Regions from separate parts of the Homo sapiens genome. Here regions 1 and 3 are each linked to region 2. The links are contacts of gene promoters, found by promoter capture Hi-C in blood cells and fetal thymus (Javierre and others, 2016). All regions are on one chromosome and are shown on one strand. The core of a region is centred on a gene start or on the middle of the fragment in contact, and the rest is flanking DNA. Distances in the headings are between cores, read along the strand shown. Region 1 holds the start of NUDCD1 (NudC domain containing 1). Region 2 holds the start of OXR1 (oxidation resistance 1). Region 3 overlaps PKHD1L1 (PKHD1 like 1).

Region 1 (4,639 bases), core at 869-3,368, 3.1 Mb before region 2:
CTTAATTCTTAAAGGCCTCAGTTTTCTCACTGGTAAAACAAGGGCGCTAGGGTATCCCTCCCAGTTCAGACATTCTTAGGGAAAATAGAACAGGGCGGAGACAGCGGGAGAGGCGGGAGAGGAGGAGCCAGAAAACAAAGCGAGGACTGGTTTCAGGCCAACTCCGGTAGCACGCCCTGTCGGAGAGCCCTACAGGCCCGCGAGCGCGGGTCGGGGACGCTAACGAAAGACAGTACATCGAAAGGAGCCTGGGCTGGGCCCGGGTCCCGGCCCTGAGGACCACGGGCATAGCTCACCACCATCACCGCGGGCGAGGGCCGTCCCTTCCCAGCGACGAAATGACCCTTGCGCTGAGGACCGTTACCTACCACACTCTTCGGCTGCCCGGACTTAGACCCTCAGTAGCTCGGGCACCTAAGCACACAGAAAGCTAGAACACGCATTTCCGGGGCGGGGTCTCGCCACCCTGCCTATAATGTGAGAATTTAACCAGCGCGGGCCGCCTCCTGGTTGCTAGGGCCTCTGGGTAACAGAGTTCAGACCTTGCCGTCGCGCGCGCGTTAAGTACCAGGAGAACTACATAGCCCAGCATGCAACAGTCTCAACTTTTTCACGGACACTACATTTCCCAGAAGGCAGTTCGCACCGCAGTGTTTTCTGGGATGGGAACCACGCCGCTTCCCAGTCTCTGTGCGAGGCGTGAAGCGCGGACCTTTCAACAAGGGCTTTATTAATTCTCACGCTGCGGCCCTGGAAAGCGATGGAGGTGGCGGCTAATTGCTCCCTACGGGTGAAGAGACCTCTGTTGGATCCCCGCTTCGAGGGTTACAAGCTCTCTCTTGAGCCGCTGCCTTGTTACCAGCTGGAGCTTGACGCAGGTGGGAAGCGGCGGCGCCCTTCGTACTCCGTTCCTTTCCCCTTTCGGCTGCCTCCGGCCTGACCCTTCCCGCAATTTCTTTCTTTCTGACTGGCAAGCGAAGCCACCGTGGCGGCTTGCGTGGACTCACGGAGGCCGCTGCTTCTGGGGAATGATGCCCATCCCAGAACCCGGTGGGAGCCGCCTTCGCGCGCTCTTCGGTAACGGGACCCTGGGCCCCCTCCGTCAGCAGCCCAGCCTCTGAGGTCTGAGGTCTGAGGGCTGGCGTGCGGGTAGTGCCTGGGGCTCTGGCTGCTGTGTGTCCACAGCCTGGCTTCTGTTTCGGGGGACGCTGAGAACATTCCTTCCTCCTGGAGCATCGCTTGTGAACGTGTGCGTTGAGAAACCACACCTCCTTGGAGGACCCCCAGTTCCTGTTTCCTCTGACCGAGAGCCGTTTCTTAGAAGAGAAACTACATTCCAGTCATAGCATTTTTAATTACTCAGTTCCTGGCACATTAAGAACTCTGGTAGAGAACATCTCTAGAAGATAGTGAGGAAAAGTGGATTTACTCCCACACTGCTACTCCTTGCTTTATCTGTAGCTGGTAGAATATCCTTACTCTTGTTTTTACAACTTAACGGCATTTTCGTTATGATAGAGCCCAGAGATCTGCATTTTAAAATTCACACCCCTGCTGATTCTGATGCATGTTTTCAGAGATCACACTTTGAGAAATAGTGATCTACAGTTAATTATAATAACAGACATTAAAGTATAAAATAAGTTTATGCTAATTGATTTATTAAATTCAGAAATATTTACCGAGTACCTGTTTTGTGTTACGTCCTGATAATATCAAAATGAACAAGACACCTTCCGTAACAAAAGAGGACTATTAGCTAGTTAGGAAGAAAATTGTAAACAGATAATTGTAAAACAATATGGGAAGGCAGTGATAGGGATATGTACAAAATACAATGGTAGTACTTGAATATCTTTCCTAAACTAGTCTGGGGATCTGGGAAGGCGTCTTGGAGGAGTTAATATCTAAGTTGAGCTTTGAAGGGTAGGTTAAGAGTTGACTAGGATGAGAGAGGATAAGCTTGATTTTTCTTTTTATTTTTTTCCTTTTCCTCTTTGCCACCGTGTTTCTTCCAGTCACCCCATGTCAGTAGATGGTATCACCATGTTTAGTTAGTGCATTAGAAAGTGAAGCCAAAATTCAGTGTCTCAAAACAAGAAGCAGTTATTATTGCTCACAAGTCTACGGGTCAGCTGAGTGGTTCTTCTAGTCCTAGTTGGGCTCATTGATGCATCCTTGTTCAGTAATGGATCTGCTGGGAAGCTCTGCTCATTTGGCTGGACTTCCTCATATGTTTGGAGGGTGGGGGTAGGGTCTCAGACTATAAGCTTGTTTAAGATTCTTTCACATGGTCTCCTCTTGACTTTTCTCCGTGTGGTCTCTTATCCTTTAGCCGACTAGACTAGCCCAGGTTGGTACCAAGAGACACTTGTGCCAGAGTCATTTGGGGTTTATTTCTTTTAGCCACTGTCTGCTTGGTAGCAAGTCCGGTCAGCTCCACATTTTGATATCTCTAGGCCTCCACCCTAATCCAAATCAGAGTTATCTCTTACCTGAACTCTAGTAGCCTCCTGACTAGCCTTCCTGCCTTCACTTTTGGGCTTCGTCATTGCATTCTCCATAAGACGTACTTATCGGCCTTTTAAATTCTATCTTGATTTGTTGTCTGTTTCCTCCACTAGACTATGAGTTCCTTGAAAACAGTGATGTTTTTCTTTTGTTCACTACCCTATATCTAGTGCTTGGCACATAGGATGTATTCAATAAAATGAGTATATGAAGAAGAGAAGAAATTGTTGAGGTCATTCCATTCATGGGAAAGCATGAGGAAAGGGAAATAATTAGTAGGTTGTATGCTGGACATCCTTGCACTCTTATATTGCTGGAGCAAAACGTCTGGGAAAGTGAGAGGAAATAAATCAGTGAGGGCCTTGTTTGCCTTTTGGATTTCTTGGATTTCCGGTCATTCAGTGTTTCCCTGACATTTTTGTATTGAGCCATTACAATATAAAATAAAACTCAGCTGCTGTAGTTCTGCCAACTTTTCTGTTTACTAGGTGGAGATGTTTCTTAAAAACTATCATTTACTCATCTATCTTTTCATAAACAAAAGGATATTTTAACACCAAAAAAGCAGGAAGCAAAATCTCACAATAAACAATCCATTGAATACTTTAACTTTAGAAAAAATTCACAAAGTTGTCCTTGTTCCGTACTCATTTCATCAGCGTTAATCTTAGATTCTGTGTTTGGGATGTACAGCTGCAGGATATCAGGTGCCATTTGAAGATTTTTTTTTTTTTTTTTTTTTTTGAGTCTGAGTCTTGCTCTATTGCGGAGGCTGGACTGTAGTAGTGTGATCTCGTCTCATTGCAACCTCTGCCTTCCGGGTTCAGGCGATTCTCCTGCCTCAGCCTCCCGAGTAGTTGGGATTACAGGCGCCCGCCACCATGCCCAGCTAATTTTTGTTTGTTTCTTTTTGTTTTTGTTTTGTTTTTTGAGACGGAGTCTCTGTCGTTGAGGCTGGAGTGCAGTGGCGCGATCTCAGCTCACTGCAACTTCCGCCTCCCGGGTTCAAGCAGTTCTCTGCCCCAGCCTCTGGAGTAGCTGGGATTACAAGTGCCCGCCACCAAGCCCAGCTAATTTTTGTATTAGAGACGGAGTTTTACTATCTTGGCCAAGCTGGTCTTGAACTCCTGACCTCGCGATCCACCTGCCTCGGCCTCCCAAAGTGCTGGGATTAACAGGCCTGAGCCACTGCTCCGACCGATTTTTTTTTTTCTTTGAAGTTCCGGGGTACATGTGCAGGATGTGCAGGTTTGGTACATAGGTAAACGTGTGCCATGGTGGTTTGCTGCACCCGTCAACCCATCACCTAGGTATTAAGCCCAGCATGCATTAGCAATTTTTCCTAATGCTCTCCCTCCCCCTACCCCATTCTCTGACAGACCACAGTGTGTGTTGTTCCCCTCCCTGTGTCCATGTGATCTCATTATTCAGCTCCCACTTACAAGTGAGAACATGTGGTGTTTTGTGTTCTGTTCCTTCGTTGGTTTGTTGAGGACAGTGGCTTCCAGCTCCTTCCATGTCCCTTTGAAGGATATGATTGTGTTCCTTTTTATGGCTGCATAGTATTCCATGGCGTATGTGTACCACATTTTAAGTACAAGGGACGTGAACAGATACGGGAGTTGAAAAGCTTACCTCAGACTCTGTGGAGGTTGAGTTTGGAAGATGAGATGACTGCACACAGCAGATAGGAGGCTTTTGCAATAGTTCACATGATGAGTTTTTCATTAGGAATTACTTGAGGATGATGAAAAAGATTATTTTGTTTAAAAACTATCATTTCTAGAGATAGTGAAGCATAATTGAGGCGCTTCTGGTAATTTGATTTCTTTTATTCTAACTGAAGGAGTTCACTTTAGTTCCACAAACCTTTGATGGGCACCTTGGCTACCTGAAACACTGCATTTAAGATGTAAAGATGATGTGGTCTCTGGTGTCAAGAACTTGATGCAATGAGGCTTATTCTCTTGTCTTAAATAATGTTATTAAGTTGTACCAAAATTTCCTTTGCTACATAAGCAGTAAATGTCACTTTGTCTTTTTCTATTCCAAAGAACGAAACAAAAAACTTATTTTTAATCAAATTGTAATTGTCTTTTGATCCGGCAATTTCCTTCCTAGGCATTTA
Region 2 (4,652 bases), core at 550-3,049:
CCCAGTCCGCAGGCAACAATCACAGCATCACCTGCAAGGGGCAGCAAAGTGAACCGCGGACCCCTGGAGTGACGCCTTGGAGATGGACCCTTTGGATTTGGGAACCCCTCTGACGGCCGGGACTCCCAGGATTCCCTTCCATAGAGGGAGTCCACGGTGGTCGCAGCCGGCGGCTGAGTCCTCCTTAGAGTGCCGAATCAGAGAAGACCCGCATCAGGTTTGGGATGTAAGTGGAGAGGGAGAGGTTAGAAAGAGGCATCATTGGATAAGCAAAGAATGCTACCCTGGGAAAAGGAGGCAGAAAAGACGTAGGGAAGTATGTTCCCCTTAATCCCTTCCCCGTGCCGCCCGTAGATCCCTGGATCTTCTTGTCACGGAGACAGGCTGCAGCCACACACGCGACCCCGGGCCGGAAACATGCACACGCGCGCGCACACACGCACACACACGCCCCGCTGCGAGTTGCACGCTGCAGACTTCTGCCTGACTTCCCGGCCAAAAACACCGCACCTCTGGGGCCAGACCACGAATTCCTGTGGCCTAGAACTGACACCACTCCCCCTACCCCCGCAATACACACATTCAGACCCTACACTGCACCCTGAGCGTGCCGGGAACCACTGAACGGAAGCCCGAGCAGCTCCCCCCGTAAACGACTACCTTCCCCACTGCCTAATGTCTATTTAAATCTCCTAAAGCTCGCCTACAGCGAGCCGAGGTGCGTCCAAGCCGGGTAGTAGACGGAGGAGGAGCCAGGGGTGAAAGTGAACCTCAGATAACAGTACTAAATCACTATTCAAGGGGCGGCACGGGGAAGCCTCCAACCCTCTCCTGAACCTTTCAGGCCCTACCAGCAGCCCAGTTCCTCCGCCCGATACTGCACAGCTCCCCCCCTCTTCACCCAAATCCCTCAGCGATTTTCCAGTCGGCCCTCCAGGCCACTTTCTACATCCATCCTTTCCCCAGCCAGTTCCCAACATGTGGCCTCGGGTACTCTAGCGGGAGACAGATTCCAGGCTGACTCCATCATGATGTGCCCCCTAGCCTTTTACTGATTCCCCAAATTATCCGAATCCACTCGCCCCTCCGGAGCCCACTGTCCCTTCCACCGGCGTCCTTTGCTCTCGTCCAAATCCGCTTTCCACGCGCCCCACTTTCCACCCATCCTCCTGCCGTTCTGTTCAAGACACGCTTGCCCTCCACTCTGCGCCCCCAACACTGCTCTCACGCTGCTCCCACTCTATCCCCCGGCGACACCCCCACTTTCCTTCTGCGGCTGTCCCTGGCCGGGCTCCCGCGCCCCAAACCCAGCCTCCCCGCCCGGTCTCCTCCCTCGCCGCCCGGTCTCCTCCCTCGCCGCGCGGTCTTTCCTTCTTCCCAAGTCCGCCCTCTGGGCCCCCGCTGGAGCTAGTTCTGCCCTCCTGCTCTGCCCGTCGTCCCCGCTCGAGCATCCCAATGGCCACCCGCTTTCAAATTGGCTAAGTGGCTCGGAGAGGCGCCAGGCACAGGGGGCAGAGGCCAGCCGGCTCTCCCGGGCGCCAGCCGCGCCTCTCGCTATCCCTCCTGGACTCCCCCGGGCGCCAAGCCCTCGCCCTAACGCCCAGCAGCCTCACAAACTTACTTGCGGGTCGCCAGGAGGGGGCTGCGGTGAGCGGCGGCGGGCCCCGCGGCGGCGAGTGCGCCCCTCTCGGCGGGGCTGGGCGGCGCGGCGCCGGCGCTGAGCTCCTGTGGCCGCGAGGTGAATGGGCTCAGCCTGACGCAGCCCAGCTCTAGCCCCGCTGCTGCCGGCGCCGCTGAGCGCTTGCAGACATGCTCAGTTTCCGGACCTGCCCGCGTGGAAGCTACCAAGAGCCGGCAGCGGCGGGGGAGACTGAGAGGAGCCGTGGGGCGCCGCGAGCCGGAGGCTACCACGCCGGGGGCGGGGGGAGGCACGCACCGCTAAAAATAGCTCCTGCGGAAGCCACGCTGGCTTAGCGCGCACCCCTCCCCGCGCGCGGCCCCTCTGGCTGGGGTTCGGGTTTCTGCTCTGGCTACCGCGGTGGGGACCCCAGCTCGCCGAGTCCTGCCAGGCGTCTGCCTGCACTAGGATCCCCATCCCGGTGGAGACGGCGCCTCCAGTTCAGGCGCCCACTCGAATAGCCTGGACTAAGCCAGAGCTGCCCCGATTTCGGGGTCCCGCCTGTCGGGCAGCTCTAATACTAGGCTCTCCCTAGAGAAGCAGAGGAAAGTTTTGTTAAAGCGATAAAAAAGCTTCTGCAAGGAAAGCTGCAAGGAAATTTGTTCAGATTTACGGAGGAAAAAAATGTTCTTCAGATGCTTTGGTTGCTGGGAAAAACAAGGAGGAAAGGAAGGCGAAGTCTGACAGCCTAGAAAGGGACCCAAGGCAGCTTGGAGCGGGCTGAAGGGGGTTCTGCAAAGAGCTTCTAAAATTCAGAATTCTTTGCAAGGCGTTTGTGACTCCTCATTCCGCAGTGTTTTGCATAATTCGTTGACACCCCACCCTGACCTTGGAGATTTTCTTGTTCCTGTCACCTGAACTGTAATTTACTTTCTCCGCATGCTGCCTTCACTCCTTCCCCCTCCAACCCGGTTTTAAATTGCAAAACGAAAAGGGCGCAAACTCTGGATGGGTAGATTCCCAGACCTGAACTGGAACCTGGCTGTTCTGTAACCCTGAGGAAAGGAGCTGGTCCTGTTGCCGAGTTCGGGATGTATCCCAGATCTCCTGTGCATCCAGCAAACACTTCAAGCGTAGGAGCCTTTCAGCCACCTCACCTGCAAATTAGCTATTTCCCGCTATTAGTGTTCACTCTATTCTACCTTAATTTCTGATCATTTATTATTATTTTTTAATTCTGTTCTTTAAAGTAAGAGGTACAGATATTTCCTGGGTCAAATTTCCGTCTTGTTTCACTCACCTCTCACAGCCACCCAATGAGAGAATCATTATTATTCCCATTTGACAGACAGGGATGTTGAAATTTAGCGACAGGAGCTCATCGCTTGTCTGGAATAATAGAGTGTTGAACCTAGGGTCGGCCAGACTAGAAACTTTCATGGTTTCCGCATAACCTATTTCCCCGAGTCAATAGCTTTACCTGAGATAAGGGATCAAGAAAATTAGATACTATTCTGAGTGGCGTGGCGTGTCAACAGTAAGCCGATTGATAAGCCGATTGCGGGTTTTGTTCTCCATTATTTTTACCTAATTTCTTTACGAGCATTCGCAGCTTAAATTTTCTGTTATGTTGAAACTGATAGCGTTTAATTTTTATTCTATCAGAAAGATTTTACTGAGAATCTTCTACAAGCAATGTATAGACTAGGTATGTATTTTATAATTATCTCAGTTCAGACTCTGTGATAAAGCTACTTTGTTTTCCCAGTATTATAAATTAGTTAGACTTTGCTAACCCTACTAAGTAATGTACATGTGATTTTTTCATAGAACTGTAGTGGAATCTGTCTATTTGGGTCAAGATGTCCTCCCTCCTAAGATATTTGCGCCCTTCCATCCCCACTTGCAATTTAGTGCCATGTGCACCCCAAAATAAGTAATCAATTAAGGTTTGATCTTTTACTTTTTTACTGAAGCTGCAAATATTATCTGCAGGACCAGGGCCACTTTATAATGACAACATCATGTTTCTAATTTTCCATAGGTGATTCATTGGGAGATCAAAATGTGAATTTCCTTAGACTATCAACACAAATCATTCCTTTCTATCAGTGGTGAAGGAAGGTGAAAAATAAACTTTACTTTCATCCTGGTTGCTTTCATTCTTCCTCTTTCAGTAATTATTCTTAAGGTGGTATGGCACTCTGAACATCTTCATGCTACAGCATGCACACTACCCATAATCATGAAACAGGGAAAATCTTGATTTCAAAGTCTCTTTGGTGTCCTATGGAAAAGTGTAGCTCAAAAACGTACTGCATTGAGGACTCGAAGTAACAAGTGACAGGGATGCAATTCTAACTTAGGCAGAGAAAATGCATTGACCCGTGTAACTCAGAAGTACTAGAAATAGCAGGGCTTGTCCTGGGCTTAACAACATTAGGAAGAATATGATTTTCTCTTTCTCTAACTTGCTTTCGGCATTGCTTCCTGTGTTGGTTTCATTCCCCTCACATTATGTCCATAGTGCCAGCCCTACACAGTTGACAAATTTTGTAACCTTACAAAGAAATCAAGTCTCTTGTTCTGTTGAGCAGATCAATCTTTGAAGGTGTACTCTTATTGGCTGTCCTGGCTCACACAATCAACCACCTGCATCCTCTTGGGGATGAAAGATTCTCAAAAGGGAAAAAAGTATTTGGTTAGCAAAAGAAGGAATAGGGGATGTTTGCAAGATGGAAATAATGGATAACCAGTAAACTCATAGACTGGCCTGTTTCCCCATGGACAAAAAAAGGACAGCAAGTGTGTTGGGAGGTCCGTTGGTTTCAGTTATTCAGAAATGAGCAAGATAATAATAATGCTTTGAAGTGAACTTTTCCCATCTCTTTTTAGGCTCAGTTGCTTTGATTTGCCTGCCTAAGGGTAACAGAGAGTCCCCTCTTTGTTGCCTTTTCATCTTTATTTCAGGGCCCTGGTTATTTCCAAGGTGGTGCCACTCATTAAAGACAGCTAATGAGCCACCCAGCCAACT
Region 3 (4,412 bases), core at 712-3,211, 3.3 Mb before region 2:
GCAACAAATGAGGGATCTCCCTCTGTCTCAGGAAGATTTGGATGTGGCTAGACAGACCCCCTCCCCTCAGTCATTCCGCCACCTCAAAGATGTGGAATGCTGAGTTTAATTCAAGACGTAGCCTCCTCCCAGTAATTTTTAATTGAATTGTGTTGAACTAGAAATGAAGAAGTGGCACTTCACCGTGTCCATGCATTTGTTCCTCACATGCACCCTGGACTTGCCCTTCTTTCAACCTGAGATGTTCTTTCCTTCAGTGCTTCTCTCTTTGCAGCCTGATTCTTCTTTTTATCTTGTATGCTATGAAAGGGGTTGTTATGTGCAGGGGACCCTCAGAATACTATGCTCCACAGTTGCAAAGTGACTGGTGAGGGAGAAGTGAATAGGGTCTAAGGCCAAAATCAGTTTATGCAAATTGTTCTCAACAAGCCTTTTTCTTTATATGCCTTTAATTTTTTTTTTTATTACAGCTGCCTTTGTTCTCCCACCCTGACCCAGCAACCACCTACCCACTTAACTTTGTGATAATCTACCACAACCGTCCTCTTTCCAATTTGCACCACGTTTTTTATTAATAATTTAATTTCCAAGACGGGAAAGATGTGTTTATGGCTCGTGCTCTGGAATGGTTCTGTGTAAAGTTGGGTAAAATTATTTAATCTGTTCACCTCAATTTCCTCATCAGTAAAATGGCCATAATAGTGCCTACTTCATGCAGTAGTAATGCTTGCAAAGCTCTCTTAGCACAGAGCCTGGCACATAGCAAACATTCATAGATAACAGTTGTTGCTGCAGCTACTACTACTACTGCATTACTATTGCATTACTACAGTATCATTTCCGGTAATTGCATTTCCCAAAGGCCATGCAACCCCTTTCAGTCCCTTAAACACCTGCTCTAACTTTAATCTCTAGAATTCTAATGCCTAAATTTCAATATAAAATTTCTAAATTTTTTTTGGATTTAAAAAATCGAGTTATCTAGCTGGGCACGGTAACTCATGCCTGTAATCTCAGCACTTTGGGAGGCCGAGGCAGGAGGAACGCTTGAGCCCAGGAATTTAAGACCAGCCCAGGCAACGGGCGAAACTCCGTTTCTACAAATAATTTAAAAATTAGCCAGGTTTGGTGGCGCATGCCTGTAGTCCCAGCTACTCAGAAGGCTGAGGTGGGAAGAATCACCTGAGCCTGGGAGGTCGAGACTACAGTGAGCCATGATTGGGCCCTGCACTCCAGCCTGGGAGACAGAGCAGGACCCTGACTCAAAAAAAAAAAAAAAAAAAATCCAAAATAACCTATATTCGGATATAAACGTGTTTAAATTTTTTTTCTTAAAGAGTTGATTGCTTTAGACAATTTATTATGCCCAAGGATATTTTCTTCTTTTTCCTGATTCTTCAGTTTTCTTTATTAAATTTGCCATTTCCAAATGAAACAAAACGAAATGTATATACTTTTCCAGAAACAGCTAGTTACTGAGTACTTGTTTCCCAACACAATAGCAAAACAGAAAACAAAGCTCGCTAAAGACTGCAAATTTAAAATTTACTTTAGTAATACCTATAAAATAATATTTTAAAATCATCTTTACTTGTTAAATAGTAAGCCCATAATTGGGATCACAAGTCAATAATTTGGGATTGGGTTTAGGGACCACCTCTTGGGAACAGGGAACTTTAAGTCCTGTCCTCTCCCCAAAGCTTGTGTGGGACGGGGGTAGGAAACCACCAGATGTCAAATGGGAGGAACATAAGGGATAGAACCTGGCATATGAATTTCTTTTACTCAATGGAATATAGTAAATTCTGTCTGCTCTGTGTCCAAACCATTTTGCTCACTTTAACGCTTCTGATCAGCCTCTGCCCAATTACCAGCTTGATTTATTCACACTATCAACCTCCAGCCCACCACTTACTCTCCCCTTTCAAAGCCTACATAGGCTTTGTTCTGACTTCTCCAGCTGGGGCTAACTCTGGCCTTGTCACCTGACCTGGCCCAGGAGGTAGGAGCAGACTGCAAACACAGCCCTCTGCTTCCAGATCTTTCCCAACCCAGTTCCCTGGCTTTTCATCAAAGGGTGGGTTTTTTTTCCCTCAAACACAATTTTAGACCTGCTGTTCTGACTTGGACTTTAATGGCTTTTTATTAATGAGCAGCTGTTCACAGTTGAATACAAGATCATAAAGTCACATTCATTTCTTGATCAAGTAAAACAAAGCTTTGCCGCACATAGAGTGACATCTTTGAGCAGATACATTTGAAAGCATAGGATTTTCTGATGAGAATTTTAATGAATTGTTTTATTAATCTTCCTACTGGAGAATTTTACTTGCTTTCAAAATAATAAACATTAATATTCTGGAAAATTATAACTTCTTTTTTAATACTCAAAATCACCATATACTAGTTAGGGTCAATTGCCTAATAGAGAAATCAAACAGTCTGAAGCAGATTTTTTATTTCTTTTCTATTAAATGAAAATTAACTTTCTATGAAGCATTTAAATAAATTTTTCCTCATAATTGTTATTACAATTAGCAGTAACTTTTATTGCTAAATACAGGAAGATTCAAAATTTAGTAACAATTTAGAGTTAACCAGTTTTCTTCAGAAGGGGCCTGGTTAGAAATCAAGAAAAATAATACATATATTTTAGTAGAAATAAATTCAAATGAAAAGATGAGGTGAATTCTCATTTTGTGTTCAGTGGTGAGGTTCAGCCACATCATACTTCTGGCTAATGTCCACATCGTTATTAGATTTATGACAGAGTTCAGCTATATTATGAATTAAGTAGAGTTGATGGGAACAGCATCTGGCAGTCTAAGACCTTTTGTTATTTCTAACAGTAAATGTATTGAAATTCATACAACCAACATAAAACAGTAGTTTGTAAATCTATCTTGTACATGGATTGAGAAAGTAGAAATAAAACAACATGAAACAATGTGAGACTCATTCATTGAGCTACAGCATGATGGACATCGTGACTTTGACCTTGAACAACTTTAAGCCTCAGTTTTCTCATCTGCAAAATTAGGTTAGTAATTCCTGCTTTACGGATTTATTTTGCAAATTAAATATCATACCATATGTGGAAATGTGTTGGAAACACAGCAATAAAATCGGTGAAACCTTTGAAGCAGGCAGATTTGTTATCTTCAAGATCAGTACAATCCCCTTTAGCTCACAACATGGAATAGTGCTTCCAAGAAATAGAGGTGAATTTTATGTCATCAGCAACCAGAAGTAGACATGTCTACTAGCAATATATTAACAAAGGGAAACAGGGAGGGACAGCCAGAAGTCAACCCTCCATACCCCCGCTTCTACCTTCTTTGTTCCCTTCTTTGTTCCCTTTGTTTTAAAGGCATAGGATGAAAGAGCAGCTGTCAGAACTATGACACTTACAATCCTTCCCCTCTCTCTCCAGGCTTTTATGTACTACTCATGGGATATTTATTTCATACCAAGATCTGTTGCCAAGTTTTGTCTATTCTTTCTTCTCAGTGTCCATCATTTCAGCACATCTGGATATCAAAATGATCTGCTAACTTAGTCTTTTGTATTTTACTATTTTCCTTCCTCTAAGTCAGTTTGTTACTTTGCTGTCTGATTAATATAAATATTGTTACACCTTCTTCATAGTAACTGACCTTTTTAAATTTTCCAGTGTCTAATTCAAATTCACTTAGGAGGATATGTGTCTTGATTGTTGCTTTTTAAACTCTTAATTTTGAATTGTTTGTTTGGGGATCTCCCTCTAACCACCCATGCCCTTTAAGACATACCAGAAATTCTTGTTAAAGGAGTTGGTCTATGTATACTGTACATTTCATACAGTGAAAATTAATTTAAATCTATATTTTGTACGTAGTTCTTATTTGAAATTAAATCCTTTAAGGATTACTTTCACTTGAAAATTGAACTCATAATCATACTAGAAATTTTTGATGTGAAAAACTTAATAAATTTATTTTCTTCCTAAGAATTTATAGCGTTTACATATATAAAGGATCATCTGCCTAAATGCATAAGTTACTGTAATGAAAAACCAAAGGAAAATACTATTGCCATGTAGCCAGGCACAGTCATAAATATCTTGCACAAAAGGAATTTTTTTTTTTTGCTCATAGGCACAGAGCCCATTACCATAGCAACTATAATTACTCAGTCTATAACTGGGTGTGAATTTTATACACTGCTACTTCAAACATTAAGGCTGTAAGTCAGGATAAAGTGCAGTTTCTGTAATATTTTTAAAAGATTTCTTAATCTCAAAAAGCAGGATAGGAAAAGTTTCATCATGCTACCCAATCATTGGTTTATCAGAAAGTTTATTTAACACTTACCATGGGCAGAGTGTGTGCTAAGCACTTTAGAGAAATTGAAAGAATACATAGTCCTTAACC

What was found. Contacts are between HindIII fragments. The CHiCAGO score rates a contact against its expected background, and 5 or more counts as called.
Region 1: a fragment that was not itself captured here is called in contact with the fragment with the promoter of OXR1 in region 2 in 1 of 17 cell types (fetal thymus); the score reaches 7.3 in fetal thymus.
Region 3: a fragment that was not itself captured here is called in contact with the fragment with the promoter of OXR1 in region 2 in 2 of 17 cell types (activated CD4 T cells and naive CD4 T cells); the score reaches 6.1 in activated CD4 T cells.

What each region holds. Positions count from the first base shown.
Region 1 is chr8:109,330,132-109,334,770 of GRCh38, reverse strand. NUDCD1 (NudC domain containing 1) reads left to right here and starts at 684. Exons shown (of 10, transcript NM_032869.4): 1 at 684-878. The coding sequence starts at 761. It overlaps ENY2 (ENY2 transcription and export complex 2 subunit), which reads right to left and starts at 424. Exons shown (of 5, transcript NM_020189.6): 1 at 297-424. The coding sequence starts at 302. RefSeq lists enhancers at 143-392, 1-580, 763-812, 943-992. The HindIII fragment of the contact is 308 bases long and covers 1,965-2,272 here.
Region 2 is chr8:106,267,337-106,271,988 of GRCh38, reverse strand. It overlaps OXR1 (oxidation resistance 1), which reads right to left and starts at 1,799. Exons shown (of 17, transcript NM_001198533.2): 1 at 1,622-1,799. RefSeq lists silencers at 1,445-1,804, 1,825-2,074. The HindIII fragment of the contact is 2,469 bases long and covers 1-2,252 here.
Region 3 is chr8:109,534,920-109,539,331 of GRCh38, reverse strand. PKHD1L1 (PKHD1 like 1) reads right to left here. Exons shown (of 78, transcript NM_177531.6): 78 at 2,125-4,412. Among named protein-coding and RNA genes, the nearest start is that of EBAG9UORF, 2.6 kb to the left of the region's middle. The HindIII fragment of the contact is 518 bases long and covers 1,703-2,220 here.